Regions from separate parts of the Homo sapiens genome. Here region 2 is linked to region 1. The links are contacts of gene promoters, found by promoter capture Hi-C in blood cells and fetal thymus (Javierre and others, 2016). All regions are on one chromosome and are shown on one strand. Each heading gives the region's core, a stretch centred on a gene start or on the middle of the fragment in contact. The rest is flanking DNA. Distances are from core to core; before and after follow the strand shown. Region 1 holds the start of VCF1 (VCP nuclear cofactor family member 1). Region 2 overlaps SLC39A11 (solute carrier family 39 member 11).

Region 1 (4,615 bases), core at 2,116-4,615:
GGTCTTCACTGTCTGTTCTGGTTTGTCCACCACCAACTTAGAATTTCTTTCTTCATTCTCTGTCTCTAACTCTTTCCCTTTAGCTTTAATTAAATCTTTGATTGGTCCTTTCATCTTTTTAGCACGTGGGAGTGTAGCTGGCTTGGACTGATAAACTTTTTGATCAGTAGGTATGGTTGGTCCTATCATCTTACAGTATGGCAAGTGGGATTTTAATCGTTTAAATGGCTTCTTACAGTAAGGACACACTTCCATTCTGGGTGGATTATCACTCATCCTATTCCTGAAAAAGGTAAATGTGAGATTATGAGAAGCACATAGTTTGTACATACCAATATTTTACTTATGTGTTGTATCTTTTAAATTCATTTGGAACAAGCTAGATGTTTGCTACTTACGGTTACAGCAAGTCAACTAGTCATTATATGAGTATAAAAAATTGTTTAAAAACCCTTAAACACGTTATTCAAGGACAGAATGGTAAAGAATAAAAAACTTAGGCCAGGAACCAAAGGTTATTTATTTATTTATTTATTTTGGAAACAGAGTCTCACTCTGTCACCCAGGCTGGAGTGCAGTGGCACAATATCTGCTCACTGCAAACTCCGCCTCCCAGGTTCAAGCAATTCTCGTCTCAGCCTCCCAAGTAGTTGGGACTACAGGGGCATGCCACCACGCCTGACTAATTTTTTGTATTTTAGTAAAGACGGGGTTTCACCGTGTCCGTGTTACCCAGACTGGTCTCGAACTCCTGAGCTCTGGCAATCCACCCACCTCAGCCCCCTAAAGTGCTGAGATTACAGGCGCGAGCTACCACGCCCACGCCCAGCCAAAGGTTACTGATTACAGCAGAGGTTTCCAAAGTGATAAATAGAATATGCACTAGGGTGTAAGAAGAAAATATTAGAATTACCACAATCAAAGAATGAGAAATGAAGCTCTACTAACATTTAGTAATATGCATATACACACACACACACACACAGATATACATAAAATGTATGCATAATGCACAAATATATACATGGCCAAGGACACAGTCCTGTTTTTCACTTATACTTTTTTTTTTTTTTTTTTGAGACAGAGTCTCACTCTGTCACCAGGCCGGAGTGCAGTGTCGGCTCACTGAAACCTCCATTTCCCAGGTTCAAGCTATTGTCCTGCCTCAGCATCCCGAGGAGCTGGGACTACAGGCATGCGCCACCACGCCAGGCTAATTTTTGTATTTTTAGTAGAGACGGGGTTTCACCATGTTGGCCAGGATGGTCTCAATCTCCTGACTTCGTGATCTGCCCGCCTTCGGCCTTCCAGTGTGCTGGGATTACAGGCGTGAGACACCACGCCTGGCCTACTTATAGTTTCTAGTACAACAGATTACTGGCAAATTAGTTTGACATCTTTGTTAAACATATACGATGTAAAAAATTAAAAAAAAAACATTTATACCATGTATATTTGTACCTGTTATTCTTTAGAGTCCAGAAAAGAAAATGTTTAATTCCAATGTTTAGTTGAAAGTTATTTCCTTTCTACATCTCTTATTCTTTCTATAAAGTTCCAGAGGGCAGGAAACATATCTATCCTGCACACAGCTGTATGTAAAAACCTAGCACTGAGCCTGGCATACAATATTTGTTCACTTAATTCTTTAGATATAAACGTTTAAATATTATTCAGTACTACAACTGATAATATCTTCTGACTACCAAAGAGATTAAAAAGGGTGACTGAAACCACTTACAAAATAGACACAATCTTCACCAATCCATTCAATAAAGCAACCAACCCACCTTATCCTGTACGAAGTCCTTCAAAACAAAACTGTTTTCTGCCAACAGATTACAGTAATCATTTTTACTTTGTTGTTGTTTGGTCTTTTTTTTTTTGAGATGGAGTCTTGCTCTATCACTCAGGCTGGAGTGCAGTGGCGCGATCTCGGCTCACAGCAACCTCAGCCTCCCAGGTTCAAACGGTTCTCCTGCCTCAGCCTCCCGCGTGGCTGGGATTACTGGGATTAAGGGCGTGCGCCACCACGCCCAGCTAATTTTAGTATTTTTAGTAGAGACGGGGTTTCACCATGTTGGCCAGGCTGGTCTTGAACTCCTGACCTCAGGTGATCCACCCGCCTCGGCCTCCCAAAGTGCTGGGACTACAGGCGTGAGCCACCGCGCCCAGCCTGCTGGGATTACAGGCGTGAGCCATCATTCTTTCTTTCTTTGGAGGTACACACTAACAGGATGAAAGCCACAGACTGTTTGTTTACAATAATACACACAAATGAAGCCAGTCCATGGACCTTCGGCTAACAACGTTAGGAAGGGCTTGACACCTGCTAGACGTTTCTGCCTCCACTCCACCTCACACTCAACCCTACTTGAAAGATCCCGGTACATTCCCACGATAACGTCTATACGTGGGTGTCTGTTTTCTTACCCGAGCTCCTCCAGGAGGATGCTAGTTTTGTGGGTGCTTCTCCCGGATCCCCATGCTTCCCCGATCACCGTTCCCGAGTGTGGCAGAATGAAACGTGAATGTCAGCCTGTGTAGGACACGATCAGACAGGTGACTTGGCAGCATGCACAGTGAGTAAACGCGGCACGATACTGAACCAAATAGAAACACAGGTTCCGGAAAGCAGAGAGTTAAGACCTCCCCAGCCTCCGGGCTCAAGGAGGACCTCAATAGTTCCACTAATCCTCACCCTCACCTCCGGCGCTCTCCAGCCGCCTTTCCCTCCTCCCGCTGCGTTACCAGCCTGCCCACCTCCCCGCACCCTTCCTTTCCCTGAAAGCTGTTCTGATTCTGCCAGCTGTTCTGATTCTGCGGAGTGGATGGGGTCGGCCCGGCAGCTCCTGGGTCAGGGACAGCCGTTCCCGCAGCCCCACCGAGGATTTCCTCCTGCGGTTCCAGGAAGACCCTCCGCCGGCCCCGGCACCCGATTCCCTACCCTCTCCGCTCAGGAGAGTCTCCCCCAGACTTAGAACGTGGGCCGCGGAAAACAAACCCGCCCTTGCAAGCTCCCCACAGAGCACCGTCCTCACCTCGGAAGACCTGAAAGCCCAGGCGGCCCCGGCGACAAGCCCCCCAGGGAAGCCCCCCAGGCCCCTGCCCAACCCCCGGCCAAGGAACCTCGTCAGGCCGTCTGCACCACTGCCGGATAGGTCCGCCTGTTTTAAAATATGTTACACGGATTCAACTCAAATACTTGTATGATATTATTATGACATAATTGAATTTATTTGAAACCTGGCTTGACTTTTATACCGTACCCTCCGTTGGCTGTGAACAGGCGAGCGCTTCTGCCACCCCAGGGGAGGTCCTTTCTCCCAGAAGCTCCTAGTCGCTCCTCCCGCTCCGAGCCCGCCTCTTCCCGTGGGCGGGGTTACCAGTCGGTGCGGTTGGGATGGTGCCACTGCGCAGCCGCGAGAGGGCGGTACCACGGCGGCAGCGACATGGGGGGGCGCGGAGCAGACGCCGGAAGTAGTGGTGGTACGGGTCCGACTGAGGGGTACTCGCCACCGGCTGCGTCCACCCGAGCGGCTGCGAGAGCCAAGGCCCGAGGGGGTGGGCGTGGCGGCCGCCGAAACACAACCCCCTCTGTTCCCTCTCTTCGCGGAGCGGCGCCGCGTAGCTTCCATCCGCCAGCTGCCATGAGCGAGCGCCTCCGTCCCAGGTGAGAGGGAAGGGACCCCCTTTCCATTCGTCGCCTGAGGATCTGGGAGATAGAGCCGAGGGGGCGCGCGAAATGGGGGTCGGAGCAAGAGTGGACCCGGCGGGGCTCCCTGTGGGGTGCACTGCGGGCCGGGGGAGGAGGGGAGAGGGATGCGCGAGTGATCGGATGCTTGGTTCCTGTGGGTAGCTGGAAGGTGACTCTCCGGGGTCCAGGTCTCCCGCCCCTCCATCTTTTTTCCCCCCTGTCTTTTCCTATTTGGAACGAAGTGTGATCGGTCCCGGAAGAGAGACGGTGGCCCTAAAGCTTTCCTGTCCTAAATTTAGGAGGGTGGGGGGATGGGATAAACGTCTCATCTTGGAGAGGGAGCCCCCAAAGGCTTTTGTGAGGGCACCGGGCGGGGAGCTGCCGGCTCCCCAAGGTCAGAAAGAAAGGTTGGGCTTAACCCCGCAGCAGGGAAAGATTCGGTTAGACCGAAGAACTTGTGCCCTGAACGGTTGTGAACACAGAAGGGCAGATGACCAAGGCGGGTTATGGATCTTCTCTTGACTGTGGCATTAAGAACAAGCTGGATTCTAAACTGTTTGGATTGCGGGGCCGTTTGACTCCGAAGGCGGGAGGAAAGATTTTATCGCGATGCACTCGCTACCTTCCCGAGGGAGCCTGGCCTCGGGACGCGGGTCTTAAATTAGGGGTTCTGTGCTTGACATGTACTACTAGAGTCCGGACTAAGTTGGGATTTCTTAATTTTTTTCTCTCTCTTAATTTCCTCTGCAAGAATGTGTGGAGGAGAAAGTTGGGAAAGGTTACCTCAGAATGCTCTTCCTGTTACGGTCTTTCCACAAGGATCCTTCTCTGAAATAATTATTTCATGTGATTGAAGTTCTCAAAAGTATTCTGAGTTTATTTGGTCCCATAGTGAAAACCTAGGGTTCCCCAAGCTGC
Region 2 (4,615 bases), core at 1,262-3,761, 250 kb after region 1:
CAGTTGGTCACTTGTGAGTCTGTTTATGGTGCTTCCAACCATGTAGATTTTTATTTAATTTGTACCTCTTTGAACTTAGTCTTTTTTGATTCATACTTAGTAAAGTCTTCCTCATTCCAAGAGGATTAAAAATACCTATTTTTTTTCTACAACTTGGTTTCCTTTTTTTTTTTTTTTGCATTTAAATATTTAATTCATCCAGAATCTATTTTGGTATACAAAGTGAGATAGGGATTAAAATAATCTATTTTGGTATAAAAAGTGAGATAGAGATTAAAATGTATGTATTTCCAGATGGCTCTCAGAAGTCTTGATACCATTTGTTGAATAATCCATCTTTTCTCCGTTAATGTAAATGCCAGCTATAAAATTTACTAAATCAGAAGATGTATTTACGTATTTGCTTCTGGATTTTTGTAGTCCTAAGGTGAATAATAAACTAGCCATTTAGCCAGCCATATGTGTGTATTGAGTGCTTGAAGTGTGACTAGTCCAGATTGAGATGGGCTATAAATAAAAAATACACAGTGGATTTTGAAGACTTACTAAAAATATATATGTATAAAATATCTCATTACCAATTTTTATATTGCTTACCTTATTGAAGTGAAACTATTTTGGATATATTTGGATAAAATAAAATATGTTATTACAATTAATTTCACCTGTTTCCTTCCCCTTGGTGATTGTGCCTACCAGAAAATTTAATGTTATATTTGTAGCTCACATTCTATTTTTTTTTTTTTTTTGAGATGGAGTCTCCCTCTGTCACCCAGGCTGGAATGCAGTGGCATGATCTCAGCTCACTATAACCTCTGCCTTCTAGGTTCAAGTAATTCTCTGCCTCAGCCTCCATAGTGGCTGGGATTATAGGCACCCACCATCATGCCTGGCTAATTTTTGTATTTTTAGTAGAGACGGGGTTTCACCATCTTGGCCAGGCTGGTCTCAAACTCCTGACCTCTTTGATCCACCCGCCTCAGCCTCCCAAAGTGTCGGGATTACAGGCATGAGCCACCGTGCCCAGCCTCACATTCTATTTTTATTATATGGTGCCGCTTTAATCTTTTCAGCTCTGCCTCTTCAGGTACTATTCTGTTTCAGTTGCTGCAACTTCACGTCTTATCATCTATTCGTCTTCTGTATTACTTGTATTACGTTCCTTTTCAAAAGTTTCTTGGTTATTCTTACAGCATATTTTCCCATGTGAACTTTAGCATCAGCTTGCGAATTTCAAGAACATCGTCTAGGTATTTTTTTTTACAAGCTTTGTTTCAAATTTCTACATTAACGTAGGCAGAAATGACAGGTTTATGACGATGAGCGTTTCTGCCTAAGAACAAAGCTCACCACTCCATCTATCCAGGCTACTCATCGCGTCTCCCAGTAGCATTTTAAGTTTTCTTCATAAGGACTTTTCATGTTTAGGGTTGAATGTATTCCTGGGTATTTCATTTCCTTTTATGAGTATTACAGACGGGGTCTCCTATTTCATGACATATTCCATCTGGCCGTTGTTTTTGCATAGAAAAGCTATTGATTTTGTCTTGAGCCACCACTAATTTTGTCTTGAGCCACCAAACAAAATACCTTTTTTTGTTAATAATCGTTCTTTAGATGATTCTTTGAGATTTGTACATGTACAGTAATATCTTCATAAATAAGCACCTGGGTCCCGCTATTGTTGGTGGGAGTTATAGATGCAAATAGGATGTCATGGTCTTAACAGAGCAGGGTGGCTGGGGACAGGAAGGGTGGCTGTCCCAGCTGGAGAGCTGGTGTAGGAATCAGTGGATCCAGCAGCAAGTCGTGGGAGAAGGATGCACCATTTTGGGGAGGTCATGGGAAGTGGGTGTGCTGCTTTGGGGAGCAAGTCATGGGAGGGGTGCTTGCCGCTTTGGGGAGCAGGTTATGGGAGGAGGGCATGCTGCTTTGCCTCCATCTACCTTGGGCAGTAGCATAGGTTTGAGACTCTGCCAGCTGCATCATCTGAGGTCTTGGTTTTCCAGCATGCTACCTGTTATAGGCAAGATTTGTTTTGGGGTCCTGTGTTGGAGGGAGGTGGGTTAGTGTGAGCTCTGCAGAGCAGCCTCCTTGCAGCTCAGCTGGGTAGGGACAAGGCAGGGGCCTGAACTGGCTCGATTTTCTGTGGCGCTTCACACATCAGGACCCAAATTTTCCCTTTTCTAGAAATTCTCAAGTTGCCCTCTCCTGAGCTTGTACTGATTTACACTTTCACCAGTAATGTTTGGGAATGTCTCTATCCGTCCCTCATCCCATTGCCTGCTCTGCTTCTCAAGACAGGTGAAGACAGACAGTATTTCCATGGATCAGATGTGCTCTCGGAGTCCAGGTTCCTCTCAGCATAACTGGAGTGAGAATTATCTGTCTCACTTACATAGCCCCTGTATTAGTCTGTTTTCAGACCATTATAAAGAACTGCCCAAGACTGGGTAATTTATAAAGGAAGGAGGTTTAATTGACTCACAGTTCTGCGTGGCTGGGGAGCCCTCAGGAAAGTTACAATAATGGCGGAAGGTGAAGGGGAAAAAGTAGCTTCTTCACAAGGCGGCAGGAAGGAGAAGTGGCAAGCGAAGGGGGAGGAGCCCCTTATAAAACCATCAGATCTCGTGAGAACTCACTCACTATCACGAGAACAGCATGGGGGAAACTGCCCCCATGATTCAGTTGCCTCCGCGTGGTCTCTCCCTTGACACGTGGTGATTATGGGGTTTACAATTCAAGATGAGATTTGGGTGGAGACACAAAACCTAACCATGTCAGCCCCAGAGCAAGGGCCTTCTTTTTTATCTTTGTAAAATTATGTTTCTGGCTAGTCAGTCACCTCATTGAAAGCAAGACCCAGACCTCATCCTTCTTTGTATCCCAGGGCTGAAGGCAGGGCCTTACCAGAGTTGGCGTGCCCTAAGTGTTCAATGATAACAGAGATGATTTGTTGTTTCCTTTCGTTCTCATGAACAAGTGCTGTTGGCACCTTTCCAAAAAGGTCTTGTGGACCCATCCTGTCCACTCCTTTCCACCCCAGCCTAAGGCATTACTGTCTCTGTCCCAGAACCTGGCCTCCTGACTGGTCCCCCTTACTCCCTCACCTCCACTTCCATGCTCCCCACAGTCTCCCCACCCCCTTCTTAGAAGCTCCCCAAGCCCTGTCCCACCTCCCGGCCTTTGCATCTGCTATTCCTTTTCTCTGAAACAGAGTTCCCGAAGCTCTGTGCGTGGCTGCCTCAGTGCAAATGTCTCCTCCCAAGCTCCTCCCTGACCCCCCACAATGTGCGTGGCTTTCTCTGTTTATTTCCTTCCTAGAACTTGTCAGCAACCTTCCTTATCCAGTTTGTTCGTTTGTATATTTTTTACTTCTTTATCATCGGTTTCCCCACCACAATGTAGGCTCCTTGAGGACAGGGACTTTGTTAGGCTTGTTCTTGGCCGTGTCGCCAACACCAGCACAGTGACTCACAGGGAACAATGCTCGGTAAATATCTGATGAAGGGAGGGAGGGAGCAAGGGAGGAAAGAAGGGAAAGAGGAAGGAAGGAAGGAAGAGGAAGAGGAAGGCAGGGAACGCCTAAGGGCAGGGAAGAGGGCTGTGGTTTGGGGTTTACAAATGGGGCCCAGACGACAGCCCAGATTCTCACTAGAACCTCCCCGTACTTCCCCTGCGTTCGCAGGCTGGAGGACGGCCTGGAAGATTCTCAACGACCACCCTGGCTAGGAATCCAATGATAGAGAAGCTTGCTCGGAGACTGACATTTTGCTGGTTTTTCTCTGGTGACCCGGTGACTCACTGCTGGTTGCTATTCCTGTGGCTTTGTGGGTGGGAGAGGCTCCTGGGAACAGGTGCCGATGCAGTCGGTCTCCTGGGCACCTTCGCTCTCCCAGGCAGCTGGTGGCTGGCCGTGCTCTCCAGGCCACCTCGGTACTTTACTGCTTTATTGAATAGGAAGCATTCATTCACTTTGGGAGCCGTTACCCTTTGGATAATATCACTACCGTTTCCCCAAACTCATTGTTGCTGTGTGGGGGTGTTTCTGTTCCAGCCCTTTGTTTGTGTGTTTTATGGAAGGTGCTAGCACTTCATGGTTCTTTCCCACATGTCCCTAGTCCCTCTCTCTGCTCTTTGCTCTTTCACTTTCTCTGATGCTTTTTCAGGTGGTTCATCTAAACTTGTCCCTGGTGTATCTCACCAGGGGTGGGGGTGTTCTCCCCTTGCCTCTGATATCCAAGACAGGTTTTATCTGCATGAACTAGGGCCTGGGGACACGCTCCTTTTCCTGCCCTGGTATTTTAGTTTTCTCTTGCTGTGTACAAATGATTATAAGTCTAACAGCTTTAAACAGCACCCTTTGTTAGCTCAAAACTCCATAGGTCAGAGGGTTGGGAGCACGTGGGTGGGTCAGCCGGTCGTGTTCTCATCTGGATTTCGGAGTCCCTTCCAAGCTCCTGTCTGCTGGCAGGATACAGCAGGGCTGCGGGAGTGAGGCCCCATGTCCTTTCTGGCTATTAGCCAGGGCCTCTCTCCACTCCTTGGGGCCGTCCACATTCCTTCCCATGTGGCTCCCTGCTTCTTCAGCCAGTCATGGCTCAGGCACTTTCTC

What was found. Contacts are between HindIII fragments. The CHiCAGO score rates a contact against its expected background, and 5 or more counts as called.
Region 2: a fragment that was not itself captured here is called in contact with the fragment with the promoter of VCF1 in region 1 in 2 of 17 cell types (megakaryocytes and neutrophils); the score reaches 5.9 in megakaryocytes.

The regions. Positions count from the first base shown.
Region 1 is chr17:73,231,144-73,235,758 of GRCh38, reverse strand. It overlaps VCF1 (VCP nuclear cofactor family member 1), which reads left to right and starts at 3,365. Exons shown (of 4, transcript NM_001098832.2): 1 at 3,365-3,673. The coding sequence starts at 3,453. MTNAP1 (mitochondrial nucleoid associated protein 1) reads right to left here and starts at 3,326. Exons shown (of 6, transcript NM_001351264.2): 1 at 3,270-3,326; 2 at 2,434-2,539; 3 at 1-283. The coding sequence starts at 276. RefSeq lists an enhancer at 3,872-4,615. The HindIII fragment of the contact is 5,222 bases long and covers 1-3,978 here.
Region 2 is chr17:72,977,157-72,981,771 of GRCh38, reverse strand. The region is part of intron 4 of SLC39A11 (solute carrier family 39 member 11); the gene reads left to right. Among named protein-coding and RNA genes, the nearest start is that of SLC39A11, 110 kb to the left of the region's middle. RefSeq lists an enhancer at 3,368-3,868. The HindIII fragment of the contact is 2,484 bases long and covers 1,270-3,753 here.